Regions from separate parts of the Homo sapiens genome. Here all the other regions are linked to region 4. Evidence: promoter capture Hi-C in human tissues and cell types (Jung and others, 2019). All regions are on one chromosome and are shown on one strand. The core of a region is centred on a gene start or on the middle of the fragment in contact, and the rest is flanking DNA. Distances in the headings are between cores, read along the strand shown.

Region 1 (2,700 bases), core at 36-2,535, 190 kb after region 4:
TCATCAGCCAGAGGAGTAACCGCCCTCTCTTCTCAGCTGTTTTGCTTGCACTCGTGATTGGTATAAACTGAGGGAGCAAATGTGTGTCCTCTTATTCACGTTGCCTAGTAAGTACCCAGGTGTGCAGTGAGCATACAAAACATCAAAACATATTTTCGTTTGGCTGAACTCTGGCTAATCAGAAACTAGAAGGAACAGACAGCTTAGAGACTTAAAGTTGGACTAGGAAGAAGTTGACAGGATGGATTAGAAGATAGCCACTTTAGGCTGGGTACAGTGGCTCATGCCTGTAATCCCAGCACTTTGGGAGGCCGAGGTGGGTGGATCACCTGAGGTCAGGAGTTCAAGACCAGCCTGGCCAACACAGTGAAACCCCATCTCTACTAATAATACAAAAAAATGAGGCAGGTGTGGTGGCAGGCACCTGTAATCCCAGCTACTCAGGAGGCTGAGGCAGGAGAATTGCTTGAAGCTGGGAGGTGGAGGTTGCAGTGAGCCAAGATCTCGCCACTGCACTCTAGCCTGGGTGACAGAGCGAGACTCTGTCTCATTAAAAAAAAAAAAAAAAAAAAAAAAACAACAACACTTTAGAGAGCCAAGGAGAGGGTGTCTGGGTACTTAGGGCAAAAGCCCAGTTGAGGAAACGCTGGGCGTGACAGCTAACTGGGGATTTTAGTACTCCACCTGGGAATGGAACTCAAACTTGAGCTAATAAATTGAATCTAGAAATCAGCCCCAAGGCTAGAGAAAGTGCCTGCCTTGCTCCTAGTGGAAGCTACTAGAAACTGAGAAGCCAACCCTGTGTGTCATAGGCCAGGCTGTGCCTAGCTCCATAAGGAAGCTCTGCGTTGTGCTTAGCCTTGAGATTCCCATCCTTAGATAATGTGGGCACCCTGAGATTATGTGAAGGAGGGCAGAGAAAAACCAAGAGCAGGGTCAATGACATGGACAGCAACAAGCAGAGCCCCCTTGGCATTTGTAACAGAGGTGACCCTTTGTAACTGTAGCCCAACAATGTTTCCATAAAAGACAGCCATAGATTTGAGCCAAATCATTTTTTGATTCATTTTTCCAATAAATAATTATTACCCCCTAGATGCCAGTTACAGATAGTTTATTCATTGGCAAAAGGTGGAGGTATGATAGCCAGGAGGGAAAGGTTCAGACTTACTGTCAATGTCATATTCCACACACAGACAAAAGGCATGTCCCATGAAGCAGGCACGGGCTGTGGCTGAGTTTGCTACATAAATGTGCTCAGATGACAAGCATCTTAACTTTCACTTAATCCTGAAGGTTTTTCACCCTCTGTTTTTTGTTTTGTTTTTTTTTTTTTGAGACAGAATCTCGCTCTGCCGCCCAGGCTGGAGTGCAATGGCACGATCTTGGCTCACTGCAACCTCCACCTCCCAGGTTCAAGCGATTCTCCTGCCTCAGCCTCCCGAGTAGCTGGATTACACGTGTGCACTAGCATCCCCAGCTAATTTTTGTATTTTTAGTAGAGACGGGGTTTCGCCATGTTGGCCAGGCTGGTCTTGAACTCCTGACCTAAGGTGATCCGCCTGCTTCAGTCTCCCAAAGTGCTGGAATTACAGGCGTGAGCCACTGCGCCCGGCCTCACCCACTGTTTTTATAAGTATCCCCCTCAATTTGTGTTCTCATTGTCTTCGGAAATTCAAAGGCTTGTTGTTGTTGCATGTTTGCATCCAGAGTCCAGGACTGCCTGACTGGGAGTAAATGGAAATGTGAGTTGCATCTTGCCTAATGAAGCTTATGTGATGACAGACCTGCTTAGAGTCTGCATGTGTCCTTTCCATGGCGTGCTCTAAATCTTCCTACTTTCCTTTACCATCCTGTCCTCATATACAAACTGTAACCCACTACCCATATCCTGTGGCAGACTACAACTCACATTAGCCATTGAATGCAAATGAGCCTCAATCAAAGAAGAAAGGAAATTAAAATTTACAGTATGTGTCTTCTCCGGTTGGCCTGAGGAGCCTCCATGACTCTCATAGCTATTTATTGCCCTTGGCATGCTGGTATTTTATGTGGGCAGGGTGAAACTGGCTGTGGTCAGGGTGAGACTTGAAGCTTTTGATTTGTTCCCTTATTTTGAAAGGGTTAAAAAGATGTTACATGTTTTGGTGTAATTTTAGTACTCATATTAATTTTGTCACATCTCTGTAAGCGAGGATGAAAAGAGAGTGCTCAATCACTGTTACTAGATCCATATTCTTACAGAGAACAAGTCTTCAAAAGGCAAGTTTTGATGACACTTGGGTTTTTTTCCCCCTTTTAATTTCTTTTAAATAACAGCTTTATTGAGATAGAATTCACCTACTACGAAATTTATCCTTTTAAAGTGTACGAGTCAGTGCTTTTTAGTATGTTCATAGAATTGTGCAACCATCACCATTATCTAATATCCGAACATTTTCATCACCCCTGAAAGAAACCCCACCCCCCATTATCAGTCACTCCCCATGCCTCCACACCCGCCTCCCACCCACAGCCTGTAGCAATCAATATTCTATTTTTGCCTCTGTGGATTCTCCTGTTCTGAATAATTCATATCAGTAGAATCATACCATATGTGGTCTTCTGCATTTGGCTTCTTTCCCGTCACATACTGTTTCCAAGGTTCATCCGGGTTGTGGCCTCTGTCAGTACTTCATTTCTTTTTATTGACAAATAATA
Region 2 (2,700 bases), core at 144-2,643, 230 kb before region 4:
ACTGCACTCCAGCCTCGGCAACAGAGCAAGGCTCCGTCTCAAAAAAAAAAAAGATCAGATGCTTTAAATACAAAACCAGATGCTTTGGCTAGGCATGGTGGCTCACACCTATAATTCCAGCACTTCGGGAGGCCAAGGCATGCAGATCACTTGAAGTCAGGAGTTCAAGACCAGCCTGGCCAACATGGTGAAAAGAAACCCTGTCTCTACTAAAAATACAAAAATTAGCTAGGCATGGTGGCACGCGCCTGTAATCCCAGCTACTCTGGAGGCTGAAGCATGAGAATCCCCTGAACCCAGGAGGCAGAGGTTGCAGTGAGCCGAGACTGCGCCACTGCACTCCAGCCTGGGCAACAGAGCAAGACTGTGTATTTAAAAATAAATAAATGAATAAATAAATAATAAATAAATAAAATAATAAAAAATAAACCACCAGATGCTTTGCTTTTATCAAGAATCCAAACTACATAAACAGAAACAGCCCTGCTCCAGCTGCATTCCCTGTGCCTTTAGGGCAGGTACTAAGTCTTGCAGTCATTTTATCTCTTGACACCAAGAATGCACTAAACATCCAGTTCAGTGAAACATTACAAACCTAAAGTCAATTTTCAGAAAAATCATTTTGTTATTACAAGGTTCTAAAAGTGAGAATGATAATGAGCCTAAGTCATAAAGGGTTTATTTTAGTTCATCAAACATCATTTTCAGTCTGTCTTTACTTGAGAATTCCTCCCAAATTTGAGCTCCTCAGAGGAAGCTTCAACAAGGGTTCTGGATACCTCTGCTCTCAAGAGTCACTTACTTTTAATTCAGCCAACTTATCAACATAAACTTGCTTTGGCTGGTCTTCTCCATCCTCATACAACCAATTTTCAGTATCTTCCAGTTTCAAAGTAAAACTGTTACGATCCTAATGATAAAGAAAATATTATAATTAGGTCAATCAAAAATTACATCCCCAATACAGTCAGAGGCATAGAATATAATGATGTATCTGAGATTTGCTTTAAAATACAGAGGGCAGCCAGGTGCAGTGGCTCACACTTGTAATCCCAGCACTTTGGGAGGCTGAGGCAGGTGGATCACCTGAGGTCAGGAGTTCAAGAACAGCCTGGCCAACATGGTGAAACCCCGTCTCCACTAAAAATACAAAAAAAATTACCCGGGCGTGATGGTAGACACCTGTAATCCCAGCTACTACAAAGGCTGAAGCAGGGGAACTGCCTGAACTCAGGAGGCGGAGGTTGCAGTGACCCAAGATGGGGCCACTGCACTCCAGCCTGGGCAACAGAGCAAGGCTCCATTTCAAAAAAAATAAGATAAGATACAGGGGGAGTAAGGAGATGGGAGATACAGAAAACAAGGATGGCAAATGTTGGTCTACTTGATAGGTATGGGGAGTTTTATTATATTATTCTCCCTGCCGTGGAGGGCTTTCGGTAAGTTAAAAAATTTCAGAATAAAAACTGCATGTAAAAGCAAGTGCATCTGGGAACACTGGCTCACGCCTGTAATCCCAGCACTTTGGGAGGCTGAGGCGGGTGGATCACCTGAGGTAAGGACAGACTAGCCTGGCCAACATGGTGAAACCCCGTCTCTACTAAAAATACAAAAATTAGCCAGGCATGGTGGAGCATGCCTGTAGTCCCAGCTACTAGGGAGGCTGAGGCAGAAGAATCACTTGAACCAGGGAGGTGGAGGTTGCAGTGAGCCAAGATCGTACCACTGTACTCCAGCCTGGGCAATAAGACCGAAACTCCATCTCAAAAAAATAAAAAAATAAAAACAACTAAGTACCCATCAACCAATGAGTAAATAAAGAAAACATGGTAGACCGGGCACGGTGACTCACGCCTGTAATCCCAGCACTCTGGGAGGCCGAGGCAGGTGGATCACGAAGTCAGGAGATCGAGACCATCCTGGCTAACACGGTGAAACCCCATCTCTACTAAAAAAAAATACAAAAAAAAAAAAAATTAGCCAGGCGTGGTAGCAGGCACCTGTACTCCCGGCTACTCCGGAGGCTGAGGCAGGAGAATGGCGTGAACCTGAGAGGCAGAGCCTGCAGTGAGCCAAGATCGCGTCACCGCACTCCAGCCTGGGCGACAGAGCGAGACTCCGTCTCAAAAATAAATAAATAAAAAATAAAAATAAAATAAAGAAAACGTGGTATATACACACCATGGAATACTACTGAGTCATAAAAAGTAGCAAAATAATGTCTTTTGCAGCAACTGGATGGAGCTGGAGGCCATTATTCTAAGTGAAGTAACTTGGGAATGGAAAACCAAATACTGCTATGTTTTCCCTTATAAGTAGGAGCTAAGCTATGGAGCATATGCAGAAATATAATGGACTTTGGAGACTCAAAAGCGGGAGGACAGAAGTGGGGTGTGGGATAAAAAAACTACCATCTTAGGTATGATGTACAGGACGTGGATGACAGGTGCACCAAAATCTCAGAATTCACCACTATATAATTCATCCATGTAACCAAAAACCACCTGTACCCAAGAGCTATTCAAATTAAAAAAAAAAAAAAACTAAAAATTCTGAGTTACAATAAACAGGAAAAAGTGAGCTTTAACAATTTAAAGAAAAATACAGGCTGGGCGCAGTGGCTCACACCTGTAATCCCAGCACTTCGGGAGGCCAAGGCGGGCGGATCACCTGAGGTCAGGAGTTAGAGACCAGCCTGAT
Region 3 (2,700 bases), core at 201-2,700, 240 kb after region 4:
ACCCTCAGACCCACTGAAACCATCTGAGGATACAAGACACACAGAATTGAGAGAGTAGGGCTATTCTAGGAAGTATAAACTACTCTGGTGTGAGCTGTAAGTCCCCTTTCCCCCTCAGTTTGTGGGTGGGTGCGCACACATCAGTGAGTTGGTAATTTTAGAATAGTTTATGTCTTTTCTTTAATGCCTAGGCAAGCCAGAAGACAGGGCCACAGCTTGGCCCTGTGAGGGACAGGCATTTCCTTCCTGTCTTTGAATCCAAACTGCTGTCAACTCTACCACCACCCACTCACATGCAGAGCCCCTGGCTGGCTGCTAGAGCCTCAGCAAAAGCCAGTGTTAGGTAGGCTGGAGGCCCACCTCCATTATTTGTTCTCTCCCCTCACACCAAGGAGACAATTATTGCTAATTAATTTTCATAACTCAGAATAGCTACAAAAAATCTTTTTCCTCAAGATATTTTTGAAAGTATTTTTAATTCAAAGAGACCATGTTTCAAACTCTGTATTTTCTCATTTATAATTACCACTAAAAATCATCAAAGCACGTAGGGATACTGATTACAGATCACAAGTTTGTCATTTTTGTAGACTATGATTTAGACAGTAATCTGCAGATGCTTTAAATTGGGATCAGCTGTCTAGGCTGACAACATAATACATATATGCATGGCATGTTCTTTTTTTTTTTTTTTTTTGAGACGGAGTTTCGCTCTTGTTGCCTGGGCTGGAGTGCAATGGCACGATCTCGGCTCACTGCAACCTCCGCCTCCCAGGTTCAAGCAATTCTCCTGCCTCAGCCTCCCGAGTAGCTGGGATTACAGGCACATGCTACCATGCCCAGCTAATTTTTGTATTTTTAATAGAGACGGAGTTTCACCATGTTAGGCTGGTCTCGAACTCCTGACCTCAGGTGATCTGCCCGCCTCGGCCTTCCAAAGTGCTGCGATTACAGGTGTGAGACACCATGCCCAGCTGCATGGCATGTTCTTTAAGCAAAAACTGCAAACTATGAAAATGAGTTAGATAATGTAAGCATCTATTTCTATGATTTTAGAATTTTATTTAAAAAAAGTCAAGGGCCTAGAGGTGTTATCAAGTGTAATCTTCTGCCTTGATCTGAAAGCAGAAAGCTCAAGTATCTGTGACATCTTTGTTACAAACCTGTGCACAGTGAAGGATCCAGCCTTGTTCCCCAAGGATGCCATATTCCTGATTCTTTAAAACTTCATTCCTCTTCCTGATTTCCAATGTAGGCTGTCCTCACAGAGCCTTACCTGAAGCCAGATGGCCTGACCCAGCAGCTAAGTCTTTGTGTATGCTGTGGTAGGGACTTAGTTCTATGAGGGGCTACTTTCTTAATGAGACTCCTTACTATACTGGAATATTCATTCTAGCTTAAGCTAGAATCTGGTTTGCAATACTATTATGTCATTGATTCTGAAACATCTTATGGTTATAATTGCATTTTTTCATTCCTGCTGGCACATAAAATAGTGGTATGTCTTATAACTGATGAGACAGTGACCTTATTCTGATAAGGAGTGCCATGAAAACTCTAACGGGTCTTCAGCTTCTTGTTCTACATTTAGCCTATCCTGTGAGAATGCTTCAGGCCCTTCTTTTAAAAGTCTACATAATGTTGCAGGAAATGTTGGTTAGCTTCAGGAGAGTGTAATAATAGTAGCTGAGCCTGATTCATTTTATATAGCAGCAAAGAGCTTCCCACCATTCAGGTGTAGCCTTGGGTGCTTCCACTGCACTGATGTTTGTTTCTCTCTTTCAGTTACTTGGGTGAGTTGGCTCCCCAGGCTTTTGAGATACCTGCCTTTTGTCCAGCACTGCATCGTCCTCGCATATCCAAGGCTGTGTCTCCCTTCAGCATCACCACTCGGTAGTTATAATTCCGCCTTTTATCAGAAGCTGATACATTTTCATCGGCATCAGACCGTATTTCTATGTATTCAATATCTGACACAGGAAGAAGAATATTTTAGAGGAACCTATGCTCTGTAGCCTTTTGTCATTTACAAACATATCAAGTAAGCCTAGGAACAACAGATGAGGCTGACATTACCAGAGGAAAACAATGGCTGGTGTGGAAACTCTTTCTCTGGCTGGGAGGATTCAAGAGCCTGGTGGTCTGGCCAGAAGCAACCCAGATGCCCCAGTTCCTCAGCCTCAACTCTTTCTTAGTTTCCCTGTTAAGAGTTTCCTCCAGGCCAGGCGCGGTGGCTCACGCCTGTAAACCCAACACTGGGAGGCCAAGGTGGGCAGATCACCTGAGGGCAGGAGTTTGAGACCAGCCTGGCCAACATGGTGAAACCCCATCTCTACTAAGAATACAAAAAATTAGCCAGGTGTGGGAGCGCGCACCTGTAATTCCAGCTACTACTCGGGAGGCTGAGGTGGGAGAATCACCTGAACCCAGGAGGTGGAGGTTGCAGTGAGCCAAGATTGCACCACTGCGCTCCAGCCCGGGTGACAGAGAAGTGCGAGACTCCATCTGGAAAAAAAAAAAAGAAAAAGAAAAAAAAAAGAGTTTCCTCTGGATGGTTTTTCTTATTGCATTTTGGCTTATCCCTATCTACACTATGACAGAACCTATTATGTCATCAGCTAAATATAATGCCTACTGCAGTCAAATATGTAAGTCCTGTTAGGCTCTGGAACAGAAAACTTTACATTTTCTTGCTACAAG
Region 4 (2,700 bases), core at 160-2,659:
TTAGATGGCAAGTGCTTGACCATCTTTTTTTTTTTTTTTTTTTTTTGAGACAGAGTCTCTCTATGTCACCCAGGCTGGGGTGCAGTGGCATGATCTTGGCTCACTGCAACCTCCACCTCCCAGGTTCAAGTGATTCTCCTGCCTCAGCCTCCCAAGCTTGACCACCTTTGACACCTCCCTGAAGAGTATGGAGTGAAGGGATCCAGGGCCACAGCTTAGGAACTTGCTGAAGTTGATTACGTAGCTATTGATTATGTAGCTCTCACTACACTTTCCAGATTGAGAAGTTAACACATTATTGGGCAATGCTGTTTTTTTCTTTAGTATACAAAATGAATCCTTCTTTCCCTCAAAAGCTTGAATTCCAGACTGCTAAAATTTCAATTTGAGACATTTAATAGTATCCATAGAAAAATAAACTCTAAATTGACAAGTTTAGTTATGCTTATCCATATATCAACATTCTAAGAAGAAATGGAGACCAATTTAAAGCGTACATCTGCCTTTAAATATTAAAAATACAAGATTGCTTCACTTGGGTGTCTCCAGCCAAAATGCAGTTAATCAATATTCCATAGAACGGAGCATTGTCGGAGGTGACTGCTGTCCTTTCTTTCCCTGGTATGTACATCATTCCTGGGCCACACTTAAGGAACAGCGTCTTTTTCTAGGGGAAAAGAAAGGGTAGTTTTTTAAGACTGGGTCTAGGAATGACCAGGGCCACCTATGCTGCATTTCCTTCCTCTTTGCTTGATCTGTCCAGTCTCAGGAAAGACTGAAGAATGGAAAGGCACCACTCTTTCATGGTACCCACATAGAGCTGTTCTTGGCTCCTAACTCCTAAGGGATTTTCCATGGAGCTCCCAGTCTCAGTCTAGAACTCCTCCATCCCAGCTTTATTCTTAGGTTCATGTGTCCCCTTGTCACTCCTCTGCCCAGCTTCCCAGGGCTCTCTGGCCCAACCCTGCTCCCAGGTTCAGGGAGTACCTGCATAGCCTTGTGATACACTCAGAATCATCCCGGCAGGAGGCTCCAATAGGCCTGAGGGAAACCCCTCTCCAAAATGGGGTCATTCTCCGTGGCCTTCTCTTTGCCGAACTCACTTCTGGTATTGGGGAGCCATCTATCTGTAAGGGCAAAGACATTCAGATATGAAAGTGTTGACACCCTGCTGCACACCTTGGAAGAGTGATCATTCCATTCCGCAGATGCTGTAGACTCAGAACAGAGGAACCATTCCTCAGGACTGAATCTAGCTTTCAAGTTCCACCACCACTATCATCTCCACACTCCACACACACACATAAGTATCCTTCCCTCCTTACCTGGCCCAACAGCAACAGGAAGATCATGAGGACTGCACAAAGTTTGAGGTGCCACATCTTGACAGGGGGAGGATGTTGGAGCCTGAAAGCCAGGGACAGTTCCTACTTCCTTTTATAGACTGACATCAACTCTTGCATTGTTACTGGGTGAGATGGGGGCAAAGTTTATATTTGTAATCAGAATCAATTTAATAAGTTAATGTCTACCGGAGGAATGTGCTCAAGGGCCACCTTTCAGGCACGTTGTATTTACTGATCCCTCATCTGGACTTTGAGTGATTGTGTTGCTGGCATGGACCCTTTCGCCCATTTTACCAAAAGTCAGCACTGCCCTTCCTTCCCTTTGAAAGCCACGTGAAACCATTGAGGGAGGTCAGGCAACTAGCCACATTTCTATTCCAAAATAGCTCAGTGAGATCACTCCCATAGAATTCCAATAATGAAGTCTTCAGAAATAATGTTGGCCCCTTTCAGCCTTGTCTAGGAAAGAAGCACTGATCTATTGTGTACAGCCAATTGGATAAGGCCCTTATCTCCTTTCTGTGGGAGGATGCTTCAGCAAGGCCTACAGTTCCCCAGATCGTCCACTTGCTTAGATGGACTGTCACCCTAATCTGCACCTCTTTATCTCACTAGTAAAATGAAGACCCAGCTGTGGAAAGTTCAAAGTCTGGCCTCCTGCCCTCTCAGGGGAATGGCTGGATGTGAGACTTATTTGGACCACAGGTGAATTGAATAATTATAGGTTTCTTTTTGTTTTTAAGCACATGTAGATGAGGAGGTAACAAGATCTCCTAAATCAGAGGGAGAGCTTGTGTAGTGACTGTATTAAAAGCCTTGAATTATGGGCTTTCTTCCCAGTAGTTGAGTGGGGCCTTTCCTTCCGGCAGCTTCAGGGCAACAGGCATAGGGATGAGATACCTCCAAAGCCCAAAGCATCCATCAGTTTAAGTAGGAACTGCTGCAGATTTCTAGACCAAGGGAGGACATGTATCTAAACGATGGGTAGTTATGGGTACTCGTGAAATGACATGGGCATTTTAAGTTTGAGGGGAAAGCTGTGAATTCTGAGTAAGGAGACTGATTGGACTTTAGATCTTCCTATGACCTGGGAGGATAATAAGCTTAAGACAAAGACAACAAATTCTTTCTGCCGGGCATCATACTGAAAACTTGGCTAATACCTCTTCCCAAGGGCCGTCTCATCTTCACAGGTTGGGTATTTGGATAAGAACCTGCTTGTTCCTTTACTCCAGGAAAACGTGGAGGAGATGCACAACAGCTGAAGGTAGAAAAGGATGGCCACTGACCCTGCTGCCAGTCAGACAGAGGGAGCTTCTTGCCAAGGGAGAAGCAGATGGTTTGATGGACCTCA

The links. Contacts are between HindIII fragments. The study calls those that stand out against the background at their distance.
Region 1: a contact is called between a fragment that was not itself captured here and the fragment with the promoter of LEAP2 in region 4, in 1 of the 25 tissues and cell types used here (bladder).
Region 2: a fragment that was not itself captured here is called in contact with the fragment with the promoter of LEAP2 in region 4 in 2 of the 25 tissues and cell types used here (heart left ventricle and pancreas).
Region 3: a fragment that was not itself captured here is called in contact with the fragment with the promoter of LEAP2 in region 4 in 1 of the 25 tissues and cell types used here (adrenal gland).

The regions. Positions count from the first base shown.
Region 1 is chr5:132,684,457-132,687,156 of GRCh38, reverse strand. No RefSeq gene overlaps it. Among named protein-coding and RNA genes, the nearest start is that of IL4, 12 kb to the right of the region's middle. The HindIII fragment of the contact is 4,749 bases long and covers 1-2,700 here.
Region 2 is chr5:133,097,755-133,100,454 of GRCh38, reverse strand. It overlaps HSPA4 (heat shock protein family A (Hsp70) member 4), which reads right to left. Exons shown (of 19, transcript NM_002154.4): 16 at 803-910. Among named protein-coding and RNA genes, the nearest start is that of HSPA4, 47 kb to the right of the region's middle. The HindIII fragment of the contact is 5,986 bases long and covers 1-2,700 here.
Region 3 is chr5:132,637,351-132,640,050 of GRCh38, reverse strand. RAD50 (RAD50 double strand break repair protein) reads right to left here. Exons shown (of 25, transcript NM_005732.4): 23 at 1,828-1,970. TH2LCRR (T helper type 2 locus control region associated RNA) reads left to right here. Exons shown (of 3, transcript NR_132125.1): 3 at 1,786-2,003. Among named protein-coding and RNA genes, the nearest start is that of TH2LCRR, 17 kb to the left of the region's middle. RefSeq lists an enhancer at 353-432. The HindIII fragment of the contact is 4,174 bases long and covers 1-2,700 here.
Region 4 is chr5:132,872,377-132,875,076 of GRCh38, reverse strand. LEAP2 (liver enriched antimicrobial peptide 2) reads right to left here and starts at 1,409. Exons shown (of 3, transcript NM_052971.3): 1 at 1,326-1,409; 2 at 988-1,127; 3 at 31-667. The coding sequence starts at 1,382. The coding sequence ends at 631. The HindIII fragment of the contact is 2,304 bases long and covers 1,404-2,700 here.